Regions from separate parts of the Homo sapiens genome. Here region 1 is linked to region 2. The links are contacts of gene promoters, found by promoter capture Hi-C in blood cells and fetal thymus (Javierre and others, 2016). All regions are on one chromosome and are shown on one strand. The core of a region is centred on a gene start or on the middle of the fragment in contact, and the rest is flanking DNA. Distances in the headings are between cores, read along the strand shown.

Region 1 (5,815 bases), core at 2,314-4,813, 140 kb before region 2:
AATGTTTTGATTTCAAAATTTAAAAGCCCCAAGCCAGGAAATTCAGTACTCCTCAAGTGAAAGGCAATCTCTACAGAACATCATTCTATTTTTTTTTTTTTTTGGAGATGAGGTCTCCCTACGTTGTCCAGGCTGGAGTGCGGTTATTTCACAGGTGCAACCACAGGGCACTGCAGCCTTAAACTCCTACGCTCAGGCGATCCTCCTGCCTCGGCCTCCCAAGTAGTTGGGACTATATGCCTACACCACCATGCCTGACTCAGAAGATTATTCTTAAAGGTATTATCCAGGAAACAGATAAGGTCATTCATAAAACACATGGCTTTTCTTTAGCTCAGTGTTAACAATGAAAATAGATTCCATTATTGAAGCACAAGTTGCAAATTGGTAACAAAGTGAACACACTGCAGTAGAAAAGGGGATTTAGTCAGGTGTGTTATATGAGCACTTGGACTTTTCAAGGTGTCATAAGCCAGTTATCTGCCACAAAGAATTTAAATTTCAGGATTCGAGTTTCTTCAGAGGAAGACACTGTGGACATCTGTGGTCATGAACTTTTGAGTGGCAACAGCCCAAACAGGTCAAGTGTCTTTAAGTGCCAAACAACAGGCAGCATTACTATGAATTACCATTAAACTCAAATGCCAAATGATGTGTGTCTCACTCCAGGTTCTAGCATCATAATATAATCTCTATAACCTTCTGTACAACTTTACAATGGAATTGTATTTCAATGATTCTGGTATCAGATTAAACTTTCCAAAAAGTTACACATAATTCAGGTCTATTTTTTCTACAAGTAAGAGTTTTGCTAAATTACAAAACCCCATAATCACAGTGTTGAATTAAAAAAAATTAAACACACAGTAATCCTGTCAATGTTAATCAAAATCAAAACTTCAGAATGCCGTGGCATTTATGTGACCAATCTGAGTTTTAGAATACAAACACCAGCTGTTTATCCCATGAACCATTTTTGCTAGGCTGAGGCTGTGAAAAATCCAAAGTCAACATACAATTATTTTTTACCACACAAGGGATATACGTGGAGGGTACAGAGTGACATTGAACAGATTACAAAGCACAAGAAACATTACTTCTCTCCCTCCCCAGCATCTCCTTCATCTTCCTGGTTTTCCGATGTCCACAGAGTAACACTGTCCCAAGTAATTGCATGATCAGAGTGCTGTCTTTATAAGACTCTTCATTCAGTGTATCCAATTCAGTAATTGCTTCATCAAATACTGTTTTTGCCAGGCTGCAGGCCTTTTCAGTAGAGTTTAGAATCTCATAGTAAAAGACTGAGAAATTAAGTGCCAGACCAAGTCAAACTGGATGTGTAGGCTGCATTTCTTCTTTCTTACTAATTTCAAATGCTTCCTGGTAAGCCTGCTGGGAATTCCACACAGTGGTTTGTTTGTTGTCTCCAGATGCCACTTCAGAAAAATACCTAAAATAATCTCCTTTCATTTTCAAATAGAAAATGGTTGTATAGAATTGAGAACAAGATATTTGTCCAACAGCTCCAGAACGTCATTGCAGATGTCCTGCAGTTCTGCCTCTATCTTCTCATGCTACTCTCTCCCCATCTGCTGCTGTTTCTCATTCCTCTGTTTTCTGCTCAATGCTGGAGAAGACATGCCAGGAAAGCAGCGGGCACCAACCATGTTCTTGTAGGCAACAGAGAGCAGATTTCTCTCTTCGTTGGAGTATTCATGCCTCGTTCTGTGACTGCCTTCGTGACTACAGCCATATCATCATAGCGCTCAGCCTGCTCAGTGAGTTGGCTTTCTGTACCAGCTCACTTTTATCCAGTCGTTCCCGTGGGAGGGCTGCAGGGGACGAGGATGCTTCTGAGCAAAGCTCCAAGTGAGGTGACCACTTCTTTCCCAAGCCCACTCCTCTGGCAGCGGTGGCGGTGCCTGCCGTGGCTGCAGCGACGGTAGCAGCAGCTCCTGTATTCGGATATTTTTAAAGTTCAAGCAAAATAAGGCAAAATGCCTTACAGCTTGGTTCTGTGTAGTAAAGAATTAACTTTACCCAGAGAGGCCACGCCTTTGCCCTTGGCTCCTGGAGGTGATGTCTAAGCCCTCAGAACTTCCTGACTAATTAGAGTGTTCTTTATCTACACCAGACAGTCTAACAGTGTGATTTATGGGGGGGTCTGGGCCATGCAGTGATAGGTAACAGCTCAACCTCTGGAGGAGCTGGAGACTAAAGGTCAGCCTCACAGGCAGTCAATGGTGTCTATATGACCAAGTCCTGATAAAAACTCTAGACCCAAGGCTCAGGTGAGCTACCTTGGTGGGTAATACTCCATGCATAATGATACATACTGTTACTGGGAAAAGTCAGCACTGCCTATGACTCCACTGGGAGAAGACAACTAGAAGCTTTGCACTTGAAACTTTCTGGGTTGCCCACGTGTCTTTCCTCAGCCTATTTTAATCTGTATCTTTTGCCATAAGTCATAACTGTGAGTATAATAGCTTTCAGTGAGCTTTTAAAGTCCTTCTAGATAATTATAGAACTTTAGGGTGGCCTTGGGAAACCATGAACTTGCAATGAGTGTCAGAAGTGCAGGTGGTTTTGTGAACTTCCAAACTTTACAGGTCCTTAACTAAAGAGTATTTTCTTACCTAATCAAGAACTTGCTCTTCATGGCAATTTGTAGAATAAGTCGGTCTACTTCAAATGAGGCCATATAAAAAGGCAACACATCTTTCCACACTCACTGAACATACAGATTAAAATACGTCAGAGAGTGAGCTCTCTTTCACAGACTTAATATGAATTAAAGTCTTAGCTGTTCAGTCATCTGGACAGAATTTAGACCGAATAAAAATCTCTAATTTCTTATACTGTACTTAAAAAGTCCTTTAAAGAAAGTGAAAAAGAGCCAATTTCTACAAGAGTTTGGTTTAGAATTTCATATCCAAAGGATGATTCATGATATGATGACTATTGAAGATTTCATTAAGTCCCCAGTTTATAGTAAGGCTGCATTAGCAAAAGGAATTTTAAAACCTTTCTAGAAGAACCTGTCTTATAATCTATATGAAATATTATGATGGTTCTTGTGAGACAGGAAGGAAAATCCTTCTCCCATAGATTACGTACCTAAATGATATGTCTATAATTAAGCATTCAATCACATGCAACAGTGGTGGTATTCCATTCATTGGCACAGAAGTTATCAGAACTAATGAAAACTTAAGAGTCTTTTTATAGTTAGTGAATTTTTCACACATAAACACATCAACATACTTTGTTAAAGCTATTATATCTGGTCTAATGGGTCAAATTATACTGATGCTAAATTTTTAAATCCTTATTTTTAAAAACACACATTTAAATCCTGGAATTTACATTCTGTTTCTCTTTATAGAATATGTTCAGGCAAATGCTACCATAATACCACCAAATAAGTCCTTGCCAAGACTTTCCAGCCAAAGTCATTAACCCTCAAAATAAGAACCAAGCCGAGGCAGCAGTCGCTTGGCCTATAAAGGTCACAGTTCACCTGAGGAAGTTACAAACACCAAGATTAGACCTAGTCTTATCTCTATCACACATAGACTTCACTGTGAAGTATATCTAAACTTTAAAAAATCGAACTACTTTGTAAAAAAAAAAAAAGGAATTATAACTAAGATCTGAAATAAGAAAGTAAAAAAAGAAAAACCCAGAGTTTTTCAAAGAAGTAAAAGAAAAACTCATCAAAGTTCAAAATTCGATGAACCATGCCACTTTAAGATAATGTTTATGCAAACAAATAAGAAAAAAGATTTGGTGGAAGATTCTCATCTACTTTGTGAACACTTACCAAACCAAACTTTCTTCTCAAACATCTTAGAAGAAATTTGAATATTCTCTATACCTGCTATAACAAGAATAAGAAGAGTTTTTGGCAAACTGCCATACCCCAAGTCCCCAACACACTGACCTTTTTACTCAAGCAGAGTCAGATTTCAAAAGTGCCCTTCTACAATTCCAGATTAGCAGTTGAAGAGCTAACAGACTTTGAGTAACAATCTTAAGCAAAACTTCCTTTAAATGTCAGGTAGGATCTGATCTCCAAACTTAATCCTTAGGAAATAAGATATAATTTTTCTAGTATTAGGAAACCAACACTCTACACTCAATGGACCCAAAAATTCATTGAATAATTTATGCAAGTATATTCACAGTGCACTAGTATACACTACCTGATTTAAAGCCACTATTTAAACACTTAAGACACCCGGTTTCATTTATCTCCTAAGAGTATTTACAAACGATCACTACTTCCTGGAACTCAAATGAAGCTATTTTATATTAGAGAAAGAATCCATAAGCCCAAAGTAAACTATAACTCAACGATAATTTTTCTGACCTCACCCTTAATCAGCAAAAGTAAACTACCTGCCCAGCATTTTTACTCCTGGATGTTACTTGCTCAGGCCCACATAATGGTCCTAGGTCTGGCATCTGTGCTACACAGCAAACTATGGAGCCCAAGTAATCCCACACAGTAGCTTACTGACCATCTATTTAGAAACTAGACCGAGAACATATGAGGATTATTTTTCTTTCATAATAAAAAACAAAAAACAGGTCTATCTCTGAAGAAGGAAGAACATTTCAGACAACTGTATGAGCAAAGGAGTTCTGATCTGTGCTATTAAGTGCAAACACTGCAAATCCATTACATGGCTTACAAAAGTCCTTTTTATTTATAGTGTATGAATATGTAAGCTTCTAATACTACTTACAGGCTTTGTGCAGGCTATGGAGCTTTTCTTCCAAAGAAATTAGGGGGCCTCAATTTATCTTTTAAACACTCAGAAAAATGCGCTTTACTTGAGCTCTAGAAAGTTTCTATCAACACAATCAATAAGAAAAAATTTAAAGAAAGCTATCAGCAGGTTTACACTTCTTGAAAATAAACACACACCACAAAAAAAGTTTAAATTCATTTACATAAAAATTAAAGTTTTCAAAAGTGAAGGTAAGTAGGTATAAGTCTTGCTAAAATGAGACAGCAAAATAATAACTACTCCAAAAAAGAAACAGTGTGACAAAATCATTCAGCTATCATAGTAAGTCATAAAAGATGAAAGATGCTACCTGGTAGGCATAAGCACAAAAGCCAATAAATCTGAAGGAGAGTTAAAATTCTATTCTTAAAAAAATGAATCAGAATCAAAGTAATTCCATTAAAATTAACGTTTTGTGAAAAGACTAATTTAAGAATCTATTATGTTAGAGGTATTCTATAGGAATAACGACAGGAAGCCAAATGAATCAGCTTCTCCTACCTTTCCTTTACTAACAAAATAAAAATCATTTGTTAACTTACACAATAGCTTTTTTAAAAGCTTTCAAATCTATCATTATTGCTTTGAATTTCTGTTATCATTATTTCTGTTATCATTATTGCTTTGGCAGAAAAGGATTTAACATTTAGCAGACTAAACTCTCAGCATTTAAATTTCACTCATGACTCACTGACTGTCCAGGATTGGAAGAAAACGCTACTTATCCTGAAGATGAGGCAGTTATTCCCAAAGGAAGTCTGTGAAAGGTGTGGGGAAGAGGCACCCAAACCTGCACACAAGCAAGCGTGCACTAGTAAACCCACATGGGCTGGGTGCCTTGGGTGCCATATCCTGAAAGTACAGTTTCTGTAGGCCAAACACTTAATCTAGGATGGCCAGAGGGAAGAACAGCATTGGATAAGACAGTCAAGAAAAACTTGTCATGTTTACTAGCTTCTGTCCTCAAAGAAATATTAACAGGTAAGCTCTCTTATTTTTCTTCACCTTTTCCTTTC
Region 2 (6,369 bases), core at 2,589-5,088:
TGAAAGGCTGAAGTGGCTGTACAGGTGTTTGGATTTTAGTCTAATCATCGCTAGTCACTGGATTTCCTTACCATAGTAAAGGTCTGACCCAAGAACTCTGAAGACTGAAATTCTGAGCATTAGCTCTGATAGGTTCCAAATGAAGGTGGGAGAAGAAGTTGGCGAACAGGGAAAAATGAACCAATCAATAGAGAGAGATGCAGCCTAGTTAGTTATTGCAAAGCCTCTGTGGTTCTCAGATCAATTAATCAAGTAAATTTATAACAGCAGGGTGTGTATAGGGCAGGGAGGGATGTAGCTGTCTTTTTTTATTTTATTTTATTTTTCTTTTCATTTGAGACAGAGTCTCGCTCTGTCACCCCGGCTGGAGTGCAGTGGCACGATCTCCACTCACTGCAACCTCTGTCTTACTGCAACCTCCGCCTCTCAAGTTCAAGCCATTCTCCTGCCTCAGCCTCCTGAGTAGCTGAGATTACAGGTGTGCCCCACCATGCCTGGCTAATTTTTGCATTTTTAGTAGAGACGGGGTTTCACCACATTGGCCAGGCTGGTCTCAAACTCCTGATCTCAGGTGATCTGCCCACCTTGGCCTCCCAAAGTGCTGGGATTAAAGGTGTGAGCCACAGCACCCAGCCAGAAATAAAGCTGTTAATTGATACGATAGTCCCCAACTCTCTCTTTGTTTTTAATAATTGTGAAAATCATAGACATAGTGTACAGGGTAACAGATTATTAGAAAGCAAGTATCCTTTTAAGCTACCATCGAAGTCAAGAAACATTTCAAGACAGGCCTGGCTCAGTGGTTCACACCTGTACTCACAGCAGTCTGGGAGGCTGAGGTGGGCTGATCACTTGAGGCCAGGAGTTTGATACCAGCCCTATCTCTACTAAAAATACAAAAAAATTAACTGGGCGTGGTGGTGCACCCCTGTATTCCCAGCTACTCAGGAGGCTGAGGCAGGAGAATGGCTTGAACCTGCGAGGCGGAGCTTGCAGTGAGCCAAGATTTCGCCACTGCACTCCAGCCTGGGCAACAGAGACTCCATCTCAAAAAAAAGAAAAGAAAAGAAAAAGCTTTATTTCTTTTAAAATAGATAACAAAAAAAAAAAAAAAACCACCAAACACTTTATTTCTTTTAAAATAGATGGCAAAAAAAGAAAAAAAGCTTTATTTCTTTTAAAATAGATGGAATAAATATGGGGAAATGTTAATATGCTAAATACGGGGTTTGGGTATATTAGAAATGTGTTAACATTCCTTATGTTTGAAAGTGTCCAAATTACTTTAAGCTGATAAGGAAAAAGTAAATAGAACAGTTAGATGAATCAAGTTAAAGCAAATCAAGTAAAGCATGAAATTTGGCCGGGTGTGGTGGCTCACACCTGTAATTTCAGCACTTTGGGAAGCCGAGGTGGGCGAATGACTTGAGGAAGGAGTTCAAGACCAGCCTGGCCAACATGGTGAAACCCTGTCTCTACCAAAAATACAAAAGTTAGCTTGATGTGGTGACAGGTGCCTGTAGTCCCAGTTACTCAAGAGGCTGAGACAGGAGAATTGCTTGAACTCAGCAGGTGGAGGCTGCAGTGAGCCGAGACCATGCCACTGCACTCCAGCCTCCAGCCCGGACGACAGAGTGAGACTCTATCTTAAAAAAAAAAAAAAAGAAGAAGAAGAAATTTAACTACAGTCTTATCCTATTCCTCAATAGTTTCTTTTGTGACTTTAATTCCACATAAAAAGATAAGAATTATAATGCTGGTAACTAAATCAAACTTCTAGGCTTACTAGCTTTGGCGGGGAGAGGTCAGAGAATGCATGATTCATAAAATATATGGCTATATTATCTATTGATTTTTTTTTTTTTGAAATGAAGTTTTTCTCTTGTTGCCCAGGCTGGAGTGCAATCGCACGATCTCAGCTCACTGCAATCTCCGCCTCCTGGGTTCAAGCAATTCTGTCTCAGCCTCCCAAGTAGCTGGGATTACAGGCGCACACCACCATGCCCGGCTAATTTTTGTATTTTTAGTAGAGATGGGGTTTCATCATATTTGTCAGGCTGGTCTCAAACTCCTGACTTCAGGTGATTCTCCCGCCTAGGCCTCCCAAAGTGCTGGGATTACAGGCCTGAGCCATTGCGCCCATCTATTAAATTTTAAATTACTTTTTTCCCCTTTTTGATTCTTCTGTTATTCCAATCATAGATAATGCATATATTATGACATATACACATATTTTGAAATTTTCTGCTTTAGGATTATCTGTCTGCTTTTCTCCCAGCAGCTACTGGCTTTCAGAATAAGAAATGACTTAGTTCTGATTCTTCCACAGAACAGTACTGGGCATCAAAGCTAGTACTATCTTTGACCTTTACTGAAATTCAATAAGATCTAGAATGAAATACAGACCAAATTATGCAAAGATGAATGGTTACTAGACCCAATATTGATTCATCTGGAAAATTTACAGATGCTTCTAGAAAGTAAATCTGTTGATCTGGGTTTCAAAGGTTTGAGTCTATACCTTCAACATGCAAAGCTTATGACTCACGGCTTAGAGGAATGGTTATTCAGAGTTCTTGGGATAAGGGATGGCTGTGTGTGTGTATATATACATATATTTATAAACATAAATATAGACCTTTTTCAGATCAATATTTTCAAAGGGATAAAAGAATGAACTAGCCTCAGAAGACAAAAAAAAGCTGCAGAAGAGAAAAAAACGAATATTGCAATATACGAATATCTAGGAAATGCAGAGCACTTCGTCGGAGCTCAATAAATTCTAGCTGAATTGACTTTGAGAGCCGTTTTAGTTCTATACCTCACTGCTCAAACCGCAGGCATCACCATGCAACTTATCGGTTTACAGCTGTGCTGTGGGTACCATCTGAAAATCTGGAAATGATTAGCTTATGCAAAACAGCCATAACCCCCAGAAACCAGGCGCTCTCCACCACTTTACCATTTAAGTCTTACACCGCTCTTGCGACTGTAAGCGAACTGACAAACATCTACTGACCAAATGGGACCTAGATTTTAAACAAAGACTGAAATCTGGAAGGCTACAAGTAAACAGAAGCTGAAACTAGCTCACCTATTCTGTTGGCCAAGGATTTCGTGGAATCTGCTAAACTTCTCTTCCCAAAAGATGATACCTATCCCCTGGGAGGTGATAATTTAATCACCTCGGTGGCTGAGTGGGTGGGGCCGAGTCAGAGAATTCTTTCAAGAAATCGCTAAACGTTTGACTTGAAGATCGATGAGAAGCCAGCCAAAAAGCTATCAAGCCAAGGACCCCAAACCCCCTAACTCCCTTACATACATATTTCCTTCCCAATCTCTAGGCTGAAGTTTATGTGGAAGCCAAAAACTACCAGCGCTAGAATCCACAGCGTGCCAGGCACAGCTCACTCACGGCTTTCACGCAATTCTAGCTACAACACCCAAACCGCAAAGTCCCTGTTGCAGGGGTAAATAAGCCGGCGAAACCCATTCACAGGAAGGCTCCCGCGTCTCGTCCCAAGCTCTTTTCTCCCGAGTTCCCAAGAGTATAAACCCAAGAAAAGGAAATAAGGCGTCCGGGTCTTTCCTCTCCCGGAGCCGATAGGCGGCTGCCCAGAAGTTCCATGGGCCACACACATTCCGAACTTGGAAGACTAGGGTCCCCTACATTGATGCCCCAGCTGCTACTTACCGGCACATTGTTGACACCTTGTCCCTTGGAAGCTATCATGAGAATTTCTCTGAAGTCCATGTTGGGCCGAGGCGGGAGAGACTGGGCCAGGCACTCGGAAAGGACTGACAGCGCACCTAACCGAGGCGCCCAGCTACAGCCAACTGCACTGCCTCGGGAGCCCCACTCCCACCCCGCCTCTGCGGGACCACTTCCGGCGCCTTCCTATGCCGTCTGCCCGCCCCCTTCCCTCCACGGCCTATATCCTTTCAGGGCCGCCACAGCGCTCGCGAGTCCCTGCGTAACTTCCGCTTTTAGGCCGAGACACGTACAAACGTGATACGTGGCTGCTGGCGTCGACCCGAGGGGCAGGGACTAGGCATTTTAGCAACCAAGGGGGTGTGGCTAAGCGAGAGAGCGGCTTCCCTGGTGGCCCGGGCGCGCGGTCTTGTCATCTTGTTGCTCCTTGTGAGCGCTGGGTAGAGAAAGTGAGGGGGTAGAGGGTTTACTTGCCAGGCCTGGGTTCTCTGGGTGTCACGGGTAGGCGCTTAGATCCAAAACGGCGGCGCCACAACAGCTGAACAGACGGATCTCGAGCCGGGGTTTGGGCTACTTGTGTCTAGGCGCTCGCGAAGCTGCGCAGGCGCACACAGCAGCGCCGTGGTCCTGTCTTGGATGCCCATTACTCATCAAATTCGGCCACATGCCGTGCGCTTACCTCCTACTCAGATGCACGCGTGCCGGGGATGGGGGCACGCGCTTACTTCTTTTGCCCCGTTTAGAAAGTAAGTTTTATGTGGAGCAGCCAACCTGTGTTTTTGCTCAGGCAATGGATTAAGGAATTTCACATACAGACCCAGCCTTGACATAACTTTGGTGTACTGATGAACATATGCTTCATATTCATATTCATTGGGATCCTAGTCCTGACTTCTTTTGGAGAGTTATCTTGGATCTGTAAGGTCATTTCGACTTAGCAAAAACACTGAAAATAATTAGGCAAACCTGGGTCTGCAAGTGGGAACCCGCCAGGGGATTGATAGCAAACAGGTACTCGGGATCTTTTCGGTGGGATGGAAATGCCTCCAAACTGGATTGTGGGGATGGTTGCACTATACATGTACTAAAAATCGTACACTTAAGACGGGTGAGAATGATACAGTATGTAAATATGTCAAGCTGTTAAAACATGCTAGACAGGCCGAGCGCGGTGGCTCACGCCTGTAATCCCAGCACTTTGGGAGGCCGAGGCGGGCGGATCACGAGGTCAGGAGATCGAGACCATCCCGGCTAAAACGGTGAAACCCCGTCTCTACTAAAAATACAAAAAATTAGCCGGGCGTAGTGGCGGGCGCCTGTAGTCCCAGCTACTTGGGAGGCTGAGGCAGGAGAATGGCGTGAACCCGGGAGGCGGAGCTTGCAGTGAGCCGAGATCCCGCCACTGCACTCCAGCCTGGGCGACAGAGCGAGACTCCGTCTCAAAAAAAAAAAACAAAAAACATGCTAGACAAAGCTGCTGGCTCTTACTCTTTGATGGTTTAATGCTGCGAACGTAATTCAAAATCAAAGCTGTTGGAACTTTAAGTTATTTTGCGCCTTAAAAGAATGTTATTATGGAACCTGAGCTACATAACAGGCAGCTGCGTTTGTTCCTCTGATTATAGATTAGCCTTTCTTTCCTACATCGTTTTGTGAAAACACAGGGAGAAGACAGCCATGTACAAACCAAGGAGAGAGACCTCAAGGTAACCACACCTTGATCATGGAATTCTAGCCACCAGAATTGTTAAGACAATAAATGTCTGTTGTTTAGGCCACCTAGTCTGTGGTACTTTGTTATTGGCAGCCCTAGCAAACGAATACACTGGCATATGGTGTTTTCAATTAATGCCAACCATCATTTCTCAAGGAAGCTCTTCCTGAGCTATCTCAGGGCCCCTTTTATAAATTCTTACAGCCCCCCAGTATTTCCCTTCATGCAACATTTTACAGTTTGTAATTACATATTTGTTCTTTTTTTTTTTTAAACTATTGGCTATATCTGTGATAGACAGAGCTATGAAAATGGGCATAAGCCTATTTTACCCATCACTATTTCCATCACCAGCACAGTTCCCTGCTAATGCACATAAAAGTTGCAACAAAGATTTTTTGACCAAATTAATGAATCGATAAGTGGAAAGCTCCCAAGATTCAATATTGTAGTACTTAGCATACATTGAGCCATTACTATATGCTTAGTGCTTGACATGGATTATCTGACTTGATCATGAGTGTTGTATAAGGCATTTCCTGTTACTGTTTTATAGATGAAAAGCTGAAGCTTGAAGAGATGAAATTAGACTTATACTGTACCATTAGTCAATCGGAGAGCCAAGACTAGAACCCTTAGATTACCCAAACCAGACTCTATATTTCAGTTAGCCCATTTGAACTGGTACAAGTCTATGTACATGGAGTTATAATGTAAAAAAGGGCTTGGATTAGGTAACTAATACCTAGTTAGTCAAAATCAAGAACAACTGCTGGAGGTGGGAATGAGGTAAGGAATGAGAGGAGCAATTTTCCTGTATCCTTGTAAAACATTCTATCATCGAGTTCAGCAAATACTTCCTGGGAAACTACTACTGTGTGCCCAACCTTATGGATGATACAAAGAAAGACCCATATCCTGCCTGCCTGATCAGAACTTTTAA

What was found. Contacts are between HindIII fragments. The CHiCAGO score rates a contact against its expected background, and 5 or more counts as called.
Region 1: a contact is called between a fragment that was not itself captured here and the fragment with the promoter of SPTY2D1 in region 2, in 1 of 17 cell types (neutrophils). The highest score is 5.1, in neutrophils.

Annotation. Positions count from the first base shown.
Region 1 is chr11:18,489,140-18,494,954 of GRCh38, forward strand. The region is part of intron 7 of TSG101 (tumor susceptibility 101); the gene reads right to left. It also overlaps the pseudogene YWHABP2. Among named protein-coding and RNA genes, the nearest start is that of TSG101, 35 kb to the right of the region's middle. The HindIII fragment of the contact is 2,344 bases long and covers 2,392-4,735 here.
Region 2 is chr11:18,630,504-18,636,872 of GRCh38, forward strand. It overlaps SPTY2D1 (SPT2 chromatin protein domain containing 1), which reads right to left and starts at 3,839. Exons shown (of 6, transcript NM_194285.3): 1 at 3,695-3,839. The coding sequence starts at 3,754. LOC105376578 (a long non-coding RNA gene) reads left to right here and starts at 3,846. Exons shown (of 2, transcript XR_931097.3): 1 at 3,846-4,458; 2 at 5,377-5,490. RefSeq lists a silencer at 2,824-3,003 and an enhancer at 4,060-4,329. The HindIII fragment of the contact is 3,460 bases long and covers 2,535-5,994 here.